4 separate regions of the Homo sapiens genome follow, and all the other regions are linked to region 4. The links are contacts of gene promoters, found by promoter capture Hi-C in human tissues and cell types (Jung and others, 2019). All regions are on one chromosome and are shown on one strand. The core of a region is centred on a gene start or on the middle of the fragment in contact, and the rest is flanking DNA. Distances in the headings are between cores, read along the strand shown. Region 1 overlaps MINK1 (misshapen like kinase 1). Region 2 overlaps ANKFY1 (ankyrin repeat and FYVE domain containing 1). Region 3 overlaps ANKFY1 (ankyrin repeat and FYVE domain containing 1). Region 4 holds the start of SMTNL2 (smoothelin like 2).

The links. The method cuts DNA at HindIII sites, captures the fragments that hold promoters and counts their contacts. A contact is called where the count stands out against the background at its distance.
Region 1: a fragment that was not itself captured here is called in contact with the fragment with the promoter of SMTNL2 in region 4 in 1 of the 25 tissues and cell types used here (IMR-90 fibroblasts).
Region 2: a fragment that was not itself captured here is called in contact with the fragment with the promoter of SMTNL2 in region 4 in 3 of the 25 tissues and cell types used here (heart left ventricle, hippocampus and lymphoblastoid cells).
Region 3: a contact is called between a fragment that was not itself captured here and the fragment with the promoter of SMTNL2 in region 4, in 5 of the 25 tissues and cell types used here (adrenal gland, heart right ventricle, lymphoblastoid cells and 2 more).

The regions. Positions count from the first base shown.
Region 1 is chr17:4,847,771-4,852,054 of GRCh38, reverse strand. The region is part of intron 1 of MINK1 (misshapen like kinase 1); the gene reads right to left. Among named protein-coding and RNA genes, the nearest start is that of MINK1, 17 kb to the right of the region's middle. RefSeq lists enhancers at 1,676-2,389, 2,390-3,105. The HindIII fragment of the contact is 4,927 bases long and covers 1-4,284 here.
Region 2 is chr17:4,256,414-4,260,933 of GRCh38, reverse strand. All of the region lies in intron 1 of ANKFY1 (ankyrin repeat and FYVE domain containing 1), which reads left to right. Among named protein-coding and RNA genes, the nearest start is that of ANKFY1, 5.3 kb to the left of the region's middle. The HindIII fragment of the contact is 5,645 bases long and covers 31-4,520 here.
Region 3 is chr17:4,202,883-4,207,446 of GRCh38, reverse strand. ANKFY1 (ankyrin repeat and FYVE domain containing 1) reads left to right here. Exons shown (of 25, transcript NM_001330063.2): 7 at 961-1,126. Among named protein-coding and RNA genes, the nearest start is that of ANKFY1, 59 kb to the left of the region's middle. RefSeq lists a silencer at 197-397. The HindIII fragment of the contact is 7,321 bases long and covers 1-4,564 here.
Region 4 is chr17:4,583,009-4,587,618 of GRCh38, reverse strand. It overlaps SMTNL2 (smoothelin like 2), which reads right to left and starts at 3,090. Exons shown (of 8, transcript NM_001114974.2): 1 at 2,615-3,090. The coding sequence starts at 3,013. RefSeq lists enhancers at 1,494-2,111, 2,732-3,351, 3,352-3,971. The HindIII fragment of the contact is 15,336 bases long and covers 1-4,610 here.

The DNA.
Region 1 (4,284 bases), core at 1,106-3,605, 270 kb before region 4:
GTTTTACCAGAGAGTGGACTTTCTTAGTTTTTTTTTTTTTTTTTTTTTTTTTTTTGAGACAGAGTCTCACTCTGTTGCCCAGGCTGGAGTGCAGTGGGGTGATCTCAGCTCACCGCATCCTCTGCCTCCCCGATTCAAGTGATTCTCCTGTCCCAGCCTCCCAAGTAGTTGGGATTACAGGCACAAGCCACCACACCCGGCTAATTTTTGTATTTTTAGTAGAGACAGGGTTTACCTTGTTGGTCAGGCTGGTCTTGAACTCCTGACCTCAGGTGATCCACCCACCTTGGCCTCCTAAAGTGCTGGGATTACAGGCGTGAGCCACCACGCACGGCCCGAGAGTGGACTTTCTTAAGGCAGGGAATTCCTACGTGGTTGGCAAAAACCACACGGGAACACTAATAATGGCCCAAAGAGGTCGGGAGACAATGGGGCCAGGAGAGATGAAGGGAAGGCTTCTCGGAGGAGAAAAGAGCTCAGCGCAGTGGAAAGGAGAAGGAAACGGGCAGAGGCTGGGCTGGGTGAGAAGGGCCAAAGAAGTCCCCATCGCAGGGGGGCAGACAGCGAGCAGGAAGGCTCTAAGATGGAAGAGGGTAACTCAGGGGTAGGCTTTCTTAGCTGAGGACAACAGCAAGACAGGAGTGTGGTGAAATGGAATGATGGTGCTTAGTGTTTACTGCACTAAGAATCAGAAGGCCTGGGCACTGGTTCTGACTCTTCTGTATAATTTAGGCAAATCCGCAAATCACTTAACCTCTTGGAGGTTCTTTTCCTTATCTACCCAGGCCCATTTCACAAGAATTCACCGATGTGGAAACATTTTAAAATCCATAAAATGCTACAAATTTGCATAGAGTCATTATGAAGAAACTGGCTCCCACAAAGCAAGGCAAAACTGTGGCAAAAAGTGATTTACCAAAACTGTTGGCGTTACTGGGATTTAGGGTGAAGTGTGGCAGTTCAGGAGAGAAGAAACAAGATAAAAAGTAGAATTGAGAGGAAGGCAGGTGAGACAGAAGGGAGGAAAACCAGATCTGTGGCCTCGGAGGCAGGCTGACAGGGGCAGGGAGGAGGGCCAGTCCCTGGGAAGCAGACACCAGAGAGAGCAAGGAAGGGCACAGCATGGCAGTGGGAGGGGGCAGAAAGGAGATGCCAGGCCCGTTCAGGCTGGCAGATACCAAGCTAACGGAGGAGGACAACACTAGTAATGAGGGGTTGGATAATAATAAGGCTTCTTGCTGCTGGTTTTCAATTGCAGCACAAACAGATCATTATATCTTATTGCCAGCCTCCTTCTGTGGGAGTCAGGTGTCCACAAACCCAAGGAAGAGACTAGAGAAGCTTCATGACCAAGAAAACTTGTGACCTGTACCCATATGATTTCGAATTCCAGAAGACCAATGACAGGCCATGAGAGAAAACTTAGGAAGGAAAGCTCTGAAGGACAAGGGGACAGGAAAAGAGATCCTGGAAGGAGAGGGAGAGGGTGTGAAGCTGAGTCAGCTGTAGGAAGAACAGGTAGAGGGCGGGGGGGGCCAGCAGGAAGGGGAGGAAGGACTGTCTGAATCACACTCTGAGAAAGAACAGGGTTACTCTCCAAAGGGTGGAGACCAGATATTCTCTGGCCCCACCAAGGACCAACCCAGGATAAATTACAGCTGAAGAGACGCAGGTGAGACAGAAGGGGAACTTCCTGACCAGCAGGATGGAGCAAACATGTTCACTCAACTTTTCACCAGGCCTGTCTCTCCTGTTTATCCTAAGAAACCTTCCCAGACACCTTTCATGCCAAATCTATGGCCTGGTGAGCCAGCTCATGCATTCATTCAACAAACACTGAGTGTCAGCTATGTAGAGGCATTGCTAGATACTACAACGTGGCGTTGAACAAAACAGAAATGGTCCCTTCTTCCTTCATGGAGCTTACAGTCTAATCAAGGAAGCAGACATTAAAGACATAATTACACAACACCTGTGAAAGACTCTGATGAAAAAATACAGAGTGCTATCAGAACGATTCAAGGAGGCTGCAGTGAGCCACGCTTGCGCCACTGCACTACAGCCTGGATGACAGAGGGAGACAGTGTCTCAAAAAAAAGAAGAAAAGAAAGATTAAAGGGAGGTCAAGATGGGAAGGGAGCCAGGAAAGGCTCGCTAAGGAAGTGATGTTTAAGCTGAGACCAGCCGGGCGCGGTGGCTCACACCTGTAATCCCAGCGCTTTGGGAGGCCGAGGCGGGCGGACCACCTGAGGCCGGGAGTTCGAGACTAGCCTGACCAACATGGAGAAACCCCACCTCTACTAAACATACAAAAAATTAGCCGGGCATGGTGGCGGGTGCCTGTAATCCCAGCTACTCGGGAGGCTGAGGCAGGAGAATCGCTTAAACCAGGAGATGGAGGTTGCGATGAGCCAAGATCGCACCATTGCACTCCAGCCTGGGCAACAAGAGCAAAACTCCATCTCAAACAAACAAACAAAACACGCTGAGACCACAGGGACAGGCAAGAGTTAGCCAAGGGAGGAGCAGGGGTGGGGAGCACACAAAGGCTCAAGGCAGGAATCTCAAATCTCCAGGCAAGGCAGAGTAAGGAGCCCAGCATCCTGAGCCGCCCAGCCTTCAATCTGTGCCTTTCAATAAAGCTCTTTATACATTTCTGTGCCAATGTCTTGTCTCTCACATCCCAACAAAGCTGTGTGTCCCCAAGGGTGAGGCATAGGTTTTCCCCTCAGGCTGAATGCTTTCTCTGGGTGGGTCCAGAGCTTTTACAGAAAACAGCACGCAGGGCCAGAGTGACTGCCCAGTGATTGCCGGAATTCCTGAGTCAGGACAAACAGGAGTTTCGTGTTCAGATAGAAGATTTTGAAGTTACTCTTCCTTGCAGTGACGCTGGAAGACTTTCAGGAGATGGTAGGAGGCTCTAGGACTGGGAAAGGGAAGCCAAGCCCACAGAATTCCAGGTCTACACCTGGGGCTCACTGACTCACTCTCAGCCATTTACCTTAAAATCAATAGACTGGGTGGTTTTCTCTTTCTTAAACAAAATACTAAGTCAGGGGGAGAGGAATGTTAAAGAACCCCAGGAGACACGCTTTCTGGGAACTTTGTGCAATAAGAGATGTTGGGCAGCTACCACCTGTCTAATGAGCATTTACCAGACTAAGCACTTTACATCCCTTTTATTTAATCCTCTCAACATCCCTATTAGGTGAGTCTTGTTACCTTCATTTTACAAAGGACAAAACTGAGGCACAGGGGCCAGGTTCGCGGTGGCTTAGGCCTGTAATCCCAGCACTTTGGGAGGCTGAGGCAGACGGATCACCTGAGGTCAGGAGCTCAAGACAAGCCTAGCCAACATGGCAAAACCCCATCTCTACTAAAAAATACAAAAACGAGGCCAGGCGCGGTGGCTCACGCCTGTAATCCCAGCACTTTGGGAGGCCGAGGCAGGCGGATCACGAGGTCAGGAGATGGAGACCATCCTGGCTAACACGGTGAAACCCCGTCTCTACTAAAAATACAAAAAATTAGCCAGGTGTGGTGGCAGGTGCCTGTAGTCCCAGCTACTTGGGAGGCTGAGGCAGGAGAATGGCATGAACCTGGCAGGCGGAGTTTGCAGTGAGCCGAGATCACGCCACTGCACTCCAGCCTGGGCGATAGAGTGAGACTCCGTCTCAAAAAATACCCCCAAACACTGAGGCATAGGGGTATGAGTTACTTGCCAAAGAACACGTAGTAAGTGACAGAACTGGGGTTTGAATCAAGTCTGTCTCCAAGGTCTGTGCAGTTGCAGGGAGCGATGGGGAAGGTCCCCCATTCCAGGTTCCTCTCTGTCCCTAAGGAACAATTCCCTGTCTTCACAAGTCAATCCCCATTTGGTTCTGACTGCTCTTCCTCCTCAGCACTAGCAGACTCAGGAAACCGTCTCTGGAGTGTACATATTCTGAAGGTCATATTTCAAATCAAATAGTCCTTCAGAGTCCCTCCCGTCCTCCCTCCCTCCTTCTTCCTCTCTCTCCCCCATCTCTCCTCTTTTAAACAGAGATGAGGTCTCTATGTTGCCCAGGCTGGTCTCAAGCTACTGAGCTCAAGCACTCCACCCACCTCTGCCTCCCAAAGTGCTGGGAGTACAAGCATGAGCCACTGTACTGGGCCCAGACCTTTTTCTGAAACTTCCCTTTATTTTTTGTGTCCTTCCCATGGATGCTGGGCTCCATACCCACACTCCAACACTGCGCCCAACCTGAGATCTCTCTACACAGTAGGAACTGATGTTTCCGAGAC
Region 2 (4,520 bases), core at 1,604-4,103, 330 kb after region 4:
TCATATAACTTGAATGATCTGTAAACACACTATGGGAACTTCCCTGATAATGGTTGGTTGGCCATGTGAGAATGTGGGAGATAGTGCCTAGGAATAGTAAATAGGATCGTGAGAGACTGAGGATACAGCTTCTTATGTGACTTGTTTAGAGAACAACCTTCTTTCCTTCCATCTATCCATGGCTATTCATTTGACCATATATATTTAGCTAAAGTCTGTCCTAAAATTAGTTTTATTCCCCAACTCTACATCTCTGTGGCTATCCTGCTTAATCTAAGCTTCATTTGTGGGTTTTTTTTTTTTTTTTTTTTTTTTGGAGACAGGATCTCACTCCGTCACCCAGGCTGGAGTACAATGGCGTGATCACAGCTCATTGCAATCTCCACCTCCCAGGCTCAAGTGATTCCCTCACTTCAGCCTCCCAAGTAGCTGGGAGTGCAGATGTGCATGCCACCACATTGGCTAATTTTTGTATTTTTTGTAGAGTTGGGGTTTTGTGATGTTGTCCAGGCTGGTCTTGAACTCCTGGGCTCAAGCCATTCACCTGCCTGGGCCTCCTGAAGTGCTGGGATTACAGGTGTGAGCCACCGCTCCCAGCCCTAAGCTTCGTTTGTAAGTGAACTACTTCAAAAGGTTCCAATTAAAAGTTTGCTTTTAACTTTTCCTCCTAGATTTTGCTCTCTCACAGCCTAATTTCACAGTTTCTAGTGTTCCCTTTAAGACATCAATCAGATCATGTCTCTCCTACTCTTCTTAATACTCCTGCCCCTCAATGCCCAACTCTCACACTTCTCCGTAATCTTAAAATATATTCCAGTTCTCTGTTAAGTATTAACAGGGTGTGGGCCCCACTTAACACTTCGAGCTTATTTCCTACTTTCATTCACTGTGCCCCTGCCACACTGACTTTTTTGCGTTCTTTGTGTGTGCCCGACATGCTGCTACCTCTGCGTCTTTGTCCCTGCAGTTTCCTTGGCCTGGAACAGTCCTCCGCTGTTTCTCCACACAACTGACCCACTTTATTCACTCAGTGTCTGTTCAGTTGTCATCTCATTAGAGAGCATCCCTCACTGGAATATAAACCCCATGAGGGCAGGAACTTGGTCTGTTTTGCTCACTCCTGTATCTCCCAGCTTAGAATCATGGCTGTGGTTGAAGGAATGTATGAATTTATTGAGCATCACCTGCTAGCCATCAAGAAAAGTTGCCTGGATACATCCTTAGCCTCTTGTCAAGCAAACTGGCTGGTCCACCTTTTATTATACTCTGCATAACCTAAGTCTGCTAGGAGCTACCTAACCTACTTTTCATCCAGCCCATTTTTGTTTTAGCAACTAAAATACAATGTTTAAGGCCGGGCACGGTGGCTCACGCCTGTAATCTCAGCACTTTGGGAGGCCAAGGTGGGCGGATCACTTGAGGTCAGGAGTTCCAGACCAGCCTGACCAACATGGTGGAACCCCATCTCTACTAAACATACAAAAATTAGCCAGGCATGGTGGCATGTGCCTGTAATCCCAGCTGCTCAGGAGACTTGAGTCAGGAGAATCACTTGAACCCGGAAGGTGGAGGTTGCAGTGATCCGAGATCGCGCCACCGCACTCCAGCCTGAGCAACAGAGACTGTCTCAAAAAATAATAATAATAAAATAAAATGTAGTGTTTAAGAGCTCAGACTCTGCAGCTGGACATGGATTTAAATCCTAGTTTAAGCTGTGATCATAAGCAAGTCAATTAATTGCTGTCAGTCTCAGTGTCCTCAGCTTTAAAAGGGGGATCATCTGTAGCTCACAAGTAGCTGTGGGAATCCTAGGATATTTCTCAGTTGCAGGAAGAGCCTTTTTCCACAGCGCCTAATGTTTCTTCCACAGCGACTGATGCTTTTCCCACAGCGCCTGATGCTTTCACCCTGGTGCACAGTCTTTCTCTTGAGTCTCCTCTAAAATCACTCTCCATTTCTTTTCCTCAGTAAAAGTAAAAATTGAAAAAAATGTAATTTTTTTGTAAATAGTATATTGAACAGAAAATTTATCATAAACTTTTGTTAGCTTGATGGAATTTGATCAGAAAAATACTTTTGACAACAACCCAAGCAAAATGGGGAAAACATTCCATGTCCTGGGTATTCATTGACCAACACAATAGTCACTAGCCACATGTGGCTACTTAAATTTGATTAAAATTAAATAAAATTTAAAATTAACTTCTCAGTTGTACTAGTCCTATTCCAAGTACTCAGTAGCCATGTGGCTAGTAGCTCCCCCTAATGGACAGCACAGATTAATAGAACACTTGCACCATTGCCAGAAGTGCTTTGGATAGTCCTGTTCCAGAAAATGCTTCATTAGTGGAGGCTGGTAGAAATAAGGAAAGAAGGAACTTTGCTGTTTCCACTTTTTTTTTTTTTTTTTGAGTTGGAGTCTGGCTCTGTCTCCCAGGCTGGAGTGCAGTGGTGCGATCTCGGCTCACTGCAAGCTCCCCTCCCAGGTTCACACCATTCTCCTATCTCAGCCTCCCGAGTAGCTGGGACTACAGGCGCCCGCCACCAAGCCTGGCTAATTTTTTGTATTTTTGGTAGAGATGAGGTTTCACCGTGTTAGCAAGGATGGTCTTGATCTCCTGACCTCGTGATCCGCCCGCCTCGGCCTCCCAAAGTGCTGGGATTACAGGCGTGAGCCACCGCGCCCGGCCCTACTTCTGAAATTTATCTGTTTATTGTTTTACTTATTGAACAAATGTCCCAGGTCATTGATAATTATATATAGTCCAGAGACCTCTTAAGGACTGTTCCTTTTATACCATTCTTTTCTTTTCTCTCCCTTTCCTGGTGACTACTGTCACCAGCTGTAGCTGTTAGCTTTCTCCTTGTGAATTATTTTTACTGAGAAATAAAATTTATCCATTAGTGGTTATGTCAAAGTAAAGCTACTGAATTGTGCTGAGATACACAGGATTCTGTCACTGGCAAGGTGATTTGCTGTAGGCAATTTGAGATACTATCATGATTTACAGCCTTGCTGAACCAAATGAGAAATTGCTATGTCCCCAGAATCTCCTGTTGAACCTGTGGTATTTATTGAACTCCATCTGGTAAGGTACTGTCGGGAGGAGGAGATAACCATGGAATGGGTATAGAGGGAGAAGTAATTGATAGTTAAATACGAATAGCCAGAACTAAAGCTTATTCACAGGGAGTTCTGAAGTCTAGGAGGGGAGATAAAAGAAATTGTATATGAGAAACTATATTTTAAGGTGAAGGGTAAAAAATGCTTAGGAGTTACTTTGAAAACTCAGGGAGAGATTTTTTAAGGAAGTAATGGGGAATGTATTTTGGATAATCAGGGAAAGTCTTGTTGCAGGAGACATTGCTTGAACTGAGCTTTGAAAAATGGCCCTCCTTTGGACATGGGGACATGAGATTGAGGAGAGGTCACTGTTCTAGGTGGAAGGAATTAGTGGGATGTGAAGTTGGAAGAGTATGTTAAGGGCCAGATTATTAAGGGCATTGGTTCAGCATTTGGATTTTATTCTGAGACTCATGGAGCGATACTACCGAAAGGAATCAGCCACGGTAGCGACAGAACAGGAATTGTGTGAGGCATGGCGAAATGACTGCAGTGTAGAGGATGGATTGGGAAGAAAGGAAGTCAGAGAGCAAGCTGTAGCAGTTGATGGTGAGCCATTTGGTAGAGGCTGTGGGGCTGGTGAGGACTGATGGGAGAAAGACCACAGAACGTATGAAAGACAGGACTTTTGAAACCTGGTTGAATGTTGATGAGAGAGAATCAAAGATGACTCAAGTTCTAGGTCTGGATGACTCAGACAAATGGCTGAGCTGCTAAGAGGTAGAGGAGGAATAGATTGGAGAACAAGTATTTTGACCTCACTTTTGGACATATTTGCTTTGCCCAGTATACTTCTATGTGGTGATGTCTAAGTTGGAAGTGTTTCCAGTCAGGAGTTTGGGGTGGAAATGGCTAGTTAGCTAATATTTGTTATGCATCTCTTATGAAACCAGCCCAATTGTCACTGCTATACACGGTGAGCTTTTGAAAGATGTGTAAGTCATGCCACCAACTGTAACATGAGGCAGACGAACCTAGCAGAGTTGAATTGCATTCAGGAAAAACGTATTTCACGGTAGGTGCAAGCTACTGTGCCAGAGATGACAAAATGAGCAAGACACAACCTTAACCTTAATGGAACTTGCAGAACAGAGAGGGGAAGGCAAAGTATTTCAAATAAGCATGCATGTTGCTTTCTAGTTATACCAGGTTTTCTCTTCTATATTCATGATTAATGGCACTACTTTTCAGCCAGACTCTCAAGTCAGTCACCAAAAAGTTATCTCCGACTCCCCCCAAGATCTGCATCAGTCACCAAATCCCCCGGATGCTGTACACCTCTCACATCTGTGCTTTCCTCTCTCCCTCGTTCCATTAGTACATAGTTCTCAACCTGGAGAACCCTGCACAGTACAGTTAACCTGGGAGTTTTTTCTTTTTTTGAGATGGAGTCTCG
Region 3 (4,564 bases), core at 625-3,124, 380 kb after region 4:
ATTCTTGCACTTACAGGATCGAGGTCCCCATTTTCTTGCTGGCTGTCAGCCGAGGGCCATTCCCACCTTCTAGAGCCCTCCACACATTCCTTAGCTCATAGCCCCCGGCTTTTGTCTTAAAAGCCAGCAGTGGTGGGTCAGGTGCTTCTCATGTCACATCTCTCTGACTTACTCTTCTGGTTCCCTTTTTCACTTTGAAGGACTTGTGTGGTTAGATAGATCGGGCCCTCTGTGGTTAGATAGATCGGGCCCTCTGTGGTTAGATAGATCGGGCCCTCTGTGGTTAGACGGGTCGGGCCCTCTGTGGTTAGATGGGTCGGGCCCTCTGTGGTTAGATAGGTCGGGCCTCCTGGATAATCTGGGATACTGTCCCCATCACAAGGTCCTTAATCACATCCTCAAAGTGCCTTTTGCCATGTAACGTGGTATGTTTATAGGTTCTGGGGATTAGGACATGTCCGTCTTTGGGGGGGGTGATAATTCTGCCCACCATATGACCTTGAAAGAAATGTAATGGCTCTTGACAGATGGGAGCGAAGTATGTTTTATCCCGGGTGTCCAGTGTATGGGGAGACATTAAACTGCTGGGAAGAATGAAATAGGAACGCCACTGCCTTTCATGAAAACATTAGCTGTTCACCGTAAAACTCTCTGAGCCTCTGCCTGGCACTCGTGCCCCACAGCACTCTGTCCACATTTTCCTGGTGGCCTTTAATCGTCTCCCACATTGTTTATGTTGGCTATGTGGTCCCCATTAATTCTGTACTCCCTGAAAACATGTACCCTGAGGAAGCCTGATAGAAGTTTGTGAATAAAGTTGAATTTGGGGAGTAAGCAGTGTTGGAGCACTTAAATTTGACATTTGTATAAGAGATGATATTTAAGGGTCAAGGTGGGAGAAATTAAAATAGGTCGTATTCTCTACTCACTGGGCGCTAATTTACAAACTTGTTTGTGTAGCTCCCTGGGAAGCTGAATGAAGCGGATCATAACGGAGATCTGGCATTAGATCTAGCCCTCTCACGACGACTGGAGAGTATTGCCACCACGCTGGTTAGTCACAAAGCTGATGTGGACATGGTGGACAAGAGTGGCTGGAGCTTGTTACACAAAGGAATCCAAAGAGGTAGGAAGAAGTGTGTATGTTTCCCTGCAGGCAATTTTATTTTTATCCGAGTAATTTTTGAAGACTTTCTGACCTTGTTCCCAAAATTCTCAAAGGCTTCTGTAGTCTGTACTCACAGGCTACATGATCTAGAATTTGATCATTGGGTCAGAGGAAGCACTCAAGAGCTGTTGCCTATGCCGTGTTAGTTTGGCCATTCACCGTGCCAACAGGGCCCCAGAAAGAAAGGCTACAAAGATGGTACTTGTGTGAAGAAGTACCTTTTACTTGTAAGCACTTGATATGTTTGCTTGTTCAATGGATGGCTTTCTCCAGGAATTGTGCTAGGAAGGTTTTGCTTTTGTATTCTACCACAGATACAAGGATAGTAGCAAAACCATAAACCTTGAAACGTGTTCTTAGCTTCAGGGTTTTCACTTTAACAGGCTAGGCCTCTATTATGATAAATTGATAGAGTTTCATTTTGTTCTAGCAGAGTTATTTGAAATTGTAGCTATATTTTGAATGCATTGTTAATAGTTGGAAGAATACAGAAATGATAGACTTGAGAACAAAACATTTAAATCTTTTTTTTTTTTTGAGACGGAGTCTTGTTCTGTCGCCCAGGCTGGAGTGCAGTGGTGCGATCTTGGCTCACGGCAAGCTCCGCCTCCTGGGTTCATGCCATTCTCCTGCCTCAGCCTCCCCAGTAGCTGGGACTACAGGTGCCCACCACCACGCCCAGCTAATTTTTTGTATTTTTAGTAGAGACGGGGTGTCACCGTGTTAGCCAGGATGGTCTCGATCTCCTGACCTGGTGATCCACCCACCTTGGCCTCCCAAAGTGCTGGGATTAGAGGCGTGAGCCACCGCGTCCTCCCAGAACATTTTAATCTTAATGAATTAACTTGTCAAAGGAAAAAAAAAATACTAGGTTTTTGTTTGTTTTTTTCCATAGTCTTACTAATTCATGAGTCCCAAATGGATCTGGGCTGATTTTGCTTTGCAATGGTCATTTTAGACAGAGTGAAATCTGTATAGAGGTAGAGTTCCAGTGAGAAATGAAAGCTTTCCAAAGTGTCAAAGCGTTAGTTTTGTGGAGGGATGGTTGACTTGATTGAAGTGCATTGCCATGGCCACTTTTTTTTACTTACACGTAGACATCAAAGAGAGAATCTACTTGTTTCGTTCCATCTTAATCATCTATATTTTCCCCTTTTGATGATGCATTGTTATACTATTATTGTCTGTGCTACATTTTTGCCATTCACAAATTGCTCCTAGTTGGTGGAATGTAGTTACATCAAGATGTGGTCCTGTGCCAGCTTTGTCCTTTTTGGGCCAAGGTTTTAATACAAGTATCCTTATAAGCCATGTGCTGGAGTGCTGAGCTTGCTGGCTGGTAGAGAGGAAAATTTTGCTCATCACTGGGTAGGAAATCCTTCGAGTATGTCAGTGTCAAGAGCAGATGCATCTTCCTCAAGCACCGTTATGTGCTGTGCAAAGCCAGCGGGTGCTTAGCACTGAGTGTGATTCAGTGGGGAAATCTCCACCACGTAGGGAATGATTCTTTCCCACACTGTTTCGTGTCTGAGATGTTTATTTTGGAAACAGATACCCTGTTACTAAAAAAAAAAAATCTGAGAATTTTGTTTCTTTCCTCCCAGGGAGTTAATTCTTATGTTTGATGATAAATCATCTTTGAGTTATTAAATATTTTGGTGATTGCTTAGATACAAGAATTGCCAAGAATTAGTGATACATTTTTGATGTTTATTTTCAGATGATTTAACCTTCCACTCTGAGTTTATTAATTGCTTGCAAGTATGTGGATTACAGCGTGGGTATAATAAACTTGATTTTGCTAACTTTAGAGTGTTGCATATTACGGTAGACAGAGCACTGGCTTTATGAAGCTGGTATTCACCAAGGTTTGAATCTGAGCTCATCTGTTTACTCTGTGGCCTTGGACAAGTCACATTCTACGTCTTCCTTATCCATAAAGTGGGAATTACTTTTGCTTTATTGGTTTGTTCAGAGAATGCGAGGCAATGTTAGTAGTACACCCAGCAGTGATTACCAGGGGAATGGTGGGGTCAACCCTGCCATTCATCGCTTGCCCCTGCGTTGGAAATGCCATAACCAGGTCCAGTTCCTGTAGGAGTTTTTTTCACTTTAACTGTTAAAGAGTGAAAGTCTTTAATATATGAGATTTTGGTTTAGTCTGAGCACACATTAGAATCTGTCAACAAAATAGTCAGTGATCATCCTAATAACCAAGTATACCAGTCATTTTATCTAAAGAGTGGAACAGGCAGGCAGTGTCTTGGGGGAGTCCACAGGGGGCACATGTTTGGCCAGAGGGATGCCATCTCCTTGGATTAGCCTGATCTGAGCAAGAAGATGAGTCTTCACTTTATAAAAACAGTTCTTCCTGAACTTTTTTACCTTAATAACCAACATCAGTTGATGGGTTTCTTTTTTCTTTCTTTCTTTCTTTTTTTTTTTTTTTTTGTTGTTGTTGTTGAGACGGAGTTTCGCTCCTGTCACCCAGGCTGGAGTGCAATGGCTCGGTCTCGGCTCACTGCAACCTCTGCCTCCCAGGTTCAAGCGATTCTCCTGCCTCAGCCTCCTGAGTAGCTGGGATTACAGGCACCTGCCACCACGCCCGGCTAATTTTGTATTTTTAGTAGAGACTGGGTTTCTCCATGTTGGTCAGGCTGGTCTTGAACTCCCAACCTTAGGTGATCCGCCCGCCTCAGCCTCCCAGAGTGCTGGGATTAAAGACGTGAGCCACTGCGCCTGGCCGATGAGTTTCTTCAGTAGATTGTTCCTGTTATTTTTAGTAAATTTGAAAATGATGCCACCAACTGGAGCAGCATGAAATATGGTTTGTATTAATTGAATAATGAAGGTTACTGGCTGAATAAAACCATCAAGAAGCTGCATTGAAAGAAATATTATATATGGATTTTTTTAGTGTGAAGTTTTTTGTTAGGAATATTTTTATATGGACGGATTGTAATAGTCAATAGTCATGCCTCATTTACCTGGCAGTGTCAGTGAATGAGGTGATGAAGTAACTGAAACTTTTAAGCACCAGCTTTTATTTTAACTGTTTCTGATGATTTGAAATCTTTCTAAAATGTGTTAACCATTTTCTTATTGACAGAAACCTTATAAACGGTGATTGTGACATTTTCTGTTCCCTCCCTTTGTTCTGCTCTTCTGATATCAGTTGTCCTTTTCCTTTATGTACCCTCTGGGCTTTCTTTTAATGTAAAACTTTATTAATTTTCTATTTCTAGTAATTTCTAAATAGCTTCTTTGTGTGGGGTGAATATATATATATATATATATGTGTATGATTATAAGTAAAAAGAACTTTATATTTGGATCTTATTAATAAAGTAAATCTGATCCAAAGTCTATAATTCTTCTAAGAGGACTTAAGGATTT
Region 4 (4,610 bases), core at 1,841-4,340:
ATTGTCCCACCCAGACCCCCACTACACAGACACAAAGTCTGAGAGGTCAGACACCCAGCAGCCTGGTGTGGGGCTGTGACTCTATGTCCATGGTCCACACTCCAGTCTCACCCTGAGCCCCGGCTCCTTGAGTGTGACCAAGCTCTTGATCACATCGTGCTGGTCACAGGACACGAGCCAGCACATGGGGATGGCTCCACACAGTCCCTCCTCTCAATGCTGGACACTGGTCTGGAGGCTGTGACAATGCTCCTGAGACGGAGGACAGCAAGAGAGATGGGGATTGGTGCTTCGGGGGTCAGCCCAGCGGCAGCTGCCTCAGGCCCCGGGAGCCAGGGCTCAAGGGGTGCAGAGCCTCTAACCCAACTGGGGACCATAGCCATGTTCCACCCACAGTGCTCAGCTACCCTTGCTGCTCATGCCCCTGGGTGCCTGGGTCTCCATCTTCACTCCCCAACAGGCCGACGCATCTTCACTGACCCCAGCCTCTTCTTCCAGGAGGGCTCCTTCTCTGGTTTGCTGAGAGTGCACTCAGGTCCTCCTCACTCCCTGGCAGTTCCCCGGTCTGGTTTTTAATTCCTTCAGACTCTTTGCTTCTGCCCAGAGAGCTCCCTAATCTCCAGGCTTGCTCACTGTGTGGAGCACCAGATCCATGAATCCACCTGCTCTGGGACAGCTTCACCTGGAGTTCCCATAGTCCCCTCATGTTCAGCACGACCCGGGTGGAACCCAGCATCTCACCCCAGATCTGTGACCCAGCAGTCCCCCAAGTCAGAGCTCCCCTCTGAGACTACCCCATCTGCTCATTCCCCCTCTGAAACCCTGTCCAAGGCAGCCCCTCTACACACCAAGGCCCACGGCCCAGCTCAGACCTTTCCTTTCTCCTTGGACCATCACAATCAAGTTACCCACCTCCAGCCACCCTCCACCTTCCATCCACCCCGAAGAGGGCTTGCCAGACACAAAGAAGACCCTCATCCTGAGCTTCATCCACCAACTCCTAACCTAGTGGACTAGCTTGGTGCCAGTGAACAATGGCTAATCTCCATTGACAAAAATCACGACTGGAGAGAATTCCCTCTCTCTCTCTCTCTCTCTCTCTCTCTTTGTGTGTACACACACATCTACATGTATATGTGAACCTGACATTTTTTTTTTTAATTTGGACAGCTGCTGCTATGAGCAGACAAATAGCAAATGCATGTTCAAATAAAACCTCAGAAACAACCGATGACACAGTTGATGAGGCACGTGTGAGCTCACAGTGGTGATTTTAGACCATGGTCACGTAGAGTGTCATGTTCATAAGACAGACTTAAGTGTATCCACATTTCCAGACATTTCACACGGAGCACTGGGACACTCCCGGGTTCTGCTACCATGACATGTTTAAGAACTTCTTACAGGCCGGGCAAAGCCCAACTCCTCTGCCCAGCACACTAGGGGCATTCGCCACTGCCCACTCCACTCGCATACCTCGAGGCTGCACTCACCAGTGAGTACTTTCAGCCTTTCTGAGGCTTCCTGCACAGCCCCCACCCCACCCTCATCTGCACCAGTAGCAGCAAGCCCCAGGCCCCCAGCACAAAGCCTTGCTGAGATACCCACTGAGAAGGGGCTAACTACTGTGTTTGGAGCAAAACATCTCTGGCTGCCCAAACTTGGTCTGGGGCCATCTCCCACCCTGGATGGGACCTCCAGGGGGAAGGCCCAATCTGATACCCTCCTCCAGGCCCCCTAGGGTCCAGCCCAGCCCACAGCGGGAAATCTGAGAGCCCCAGGGATTGCACCAAGGAGGGAGCAGGTGCAGGCTACACAGCCCCAGATCCTGGGAACCCAACCCGAGAGCACATGCCTGATCAGGATGGAAAATCCCACCCAAGGGCCACTGCACACACCATGGACACATTCTAACTGCTCTGGGTGGCCCATGCGCAAGGTAGTGACTGGTCCACGTCGGCCTCCGCCCTATCCCCACGTGGTGTGGGCCTCTGGCTAGTCACTGACCCGAGGAATCTAGACACGGCTCAAGGCGGGTTTCCACCTCTCTCCCTTCACGGTAAGGGATTTACCCCCTGCGATGGAGAGTTCCCAAAAGCCGCTGCTGATCGCGTCCCCCTCGACCCCCCTCCCCACCCATCCAGGGGCCTGAGTTCTCAATCTGAGTTAATCAATAACCAGAGCCGTCAGGCCTCAGTGAAGCGGCAACGCAGGGGAGCGTGAATGGAGGGTGGGGGTCAGGCAGGGGTGTCGACCATTCCAACATGCCCCGCGTGGCTCCAGGCAGTGCTGAACAGTCAGGGGCCGGACTTCGGCGCCCAAGCCGTTGATGTCATGGGACAGAGGAGAGAGGGAGACAGGACTCTGAGCAAACAGAGCCTGGCTCTAAAACAGGGCGGAGGACCAAGACAGGTGCAGCTGGCAGGCTCAGCGGTCCTCCCCCCGCCCTCTCCAACTCCGGAGGGGCGGCAGGACCCCCATCACCTAGTCCGAGCGGCCGGTGAAGGCCCCAACCCCGCAGACGCGAGCAGAGGCAGGCAGTCGGGGCGAAGGGGCGGCACCCGGTTCGGAGCCCCACTCCCTGGCGCCAGCGCACGCGCTCCCCCGGGCTCACCTGGCCGCGGCCGGACAGCGAGAAGGTGGCGTGGCTGGCGAAGCGTGCGCTGCCCAGGCGGGGCGCGCGGTCGGGAACCCCGGGCGCGGGCGGGGGGCTGGGCGTGCCGGGAGTGCCGGGCACCGGGGACATCCCGCTGGCCAAGCCCAGCGCCTCCACCTGGCGCGTCAGGCGCTCGAGCTGCGCCTGCAGCCGCTGGTTGTCCCGCTGCAGGTCGGCCACCGTGCGCGCCAGGGGGCCGGCCAGGCGCATCGCCTCTGCCACTCGCCGCTCCACGCCGCGCTGCAGCCCCCGCATGTCCTCGTGCAGCGCGCGCACCGCACCCTCCAGCGCCGCCTCGTAGCGGCCCAGCGCCTCGCGCACAGTGCGCGCCTCCTGGGCGTCGGGGGCCGGCTCCATGGCCCAGCAGAGCGCGCGGGTCGAGAGCGGGCCAGACGGGGGAGAAGATCCGAGCTCCGCAGCTCCGGGCCGCGACTGGCCGTCCGTGGCTGGCTTCGCTCGAGGGGCTGCCGGGGAGGCGGGCGCGGGGCGGGGCCTCGGGGGCGGAGCCGGGGACGACTCCGGGACACCCCCCTGCCCTGGAGCCCAGCGGGACGGTGCGGAGGGAGAGCTCGCCCAGCCTCTCCCCTCCCCGGCTCTTAACTGAGCCCTGCGACCCCGGAGGAGCGGCGTGCGGCCTGCGGGAGGGGCGGCGGGCCCACCCGAAGAAGGCCCTGGCCCCCCTGGACCGTAGAGAGCACACCCGGGCTGACGCGTTCGCTCGGGACTCTCACCCGCAAGGCCCAGGTTCCTCCGGGGGCGGAGACTCCCGGGCTAATGGGGACACCTACAGCTCCCACAGCTGCCGCCCCACTCCGCGGGGCCCTCCCTATGCAGCGGCCACGGCTCTCGCAGGCACACGCTCACCTGTGGGACCTTCGCCTGGAATTTCTTGTATCTGTTCTAAGACCTCAGGGAGGAGACAGGTGGTGAGGTCCCCTCCCTGACTCTGCGACTACGCGCTGTCCCCTCCCAGTCCTACTCTGTATAGCAAGATCTTCGTGCCCTTCCCACTAGTGGTCGGTAGAGGCTCCCGACCCACCAAGGGGCCTCCGTTAGGAGATCCTGGAGAGGCTAAGGGCAGACAGAGAAAGAAGGGTGTGCTGGAGCTGCATCTCCAAATCCTGGAATGGGCGGCTTTGCGACTAATCGCCCCCTCCCGCAATGAGAGTCTCAGTCACTGGCCTCTACCCGTAGGCCAGGGGTCTTACCCCTATTCCTTCTCAATGCTCTTTATGGCTGAACCCAGATAGTTCCCCCTTCCAAATGCACACCCCAAACCATCACCAGAAAAGGGAAGAAGGGAAACAGGTGTTGCTTTAGGACGATGGGATGATGGGCAAAGCTAACTCTAAGTTTTCGCTATATCATAAAGCTGATTTAAAATAAAAATGAGAACATATCCTCCTTTGTGCAAAAAACCTTTCCTAATTGGCCTTCTTTTTCCCAAGCCTGGCCTGCCTGAAAGAGGCCCAGAGGCTGGGCATGCATAGCCAGCTGACCTGCAGGAAGGAGAAGTCTGAAAGGCTTGTTCATATCATGTTCTGCTCCCAAGGTTGTTTGGAGCCCACAAACCCTCCTGGACTGGCCATCATTGCCCCAAAGGAACTGGAGCAGCCTGACAGATGCTAAATGCTGGTTCTCTCCCCCGCCCCCAGCCCCAAGGGGACAGGAAGGAACGCTGGGTTACCTAATCCAAGGAGCCTTCCAGCAATTATTTCATGAAAAAGGCAAATGCCAAAAGGTGTGCATGCTGCATATATGTGTGAGCATGTGTGTGCATTCCAGGTAGCCATCTGGACAGGGTGAGCCAAACTGCTCCCTGAATGCTTTCTCCAGGTGGAATCTTTAGTAGCAGCCTCCAGAGACGCTGCTGCTGCTCTTGCCGCAGACAGCACTCAAAGCCCCTCCAGGTCTCAGCACAAGAACCTGGAGTTCAAAAACCCTGGTCTCAGCC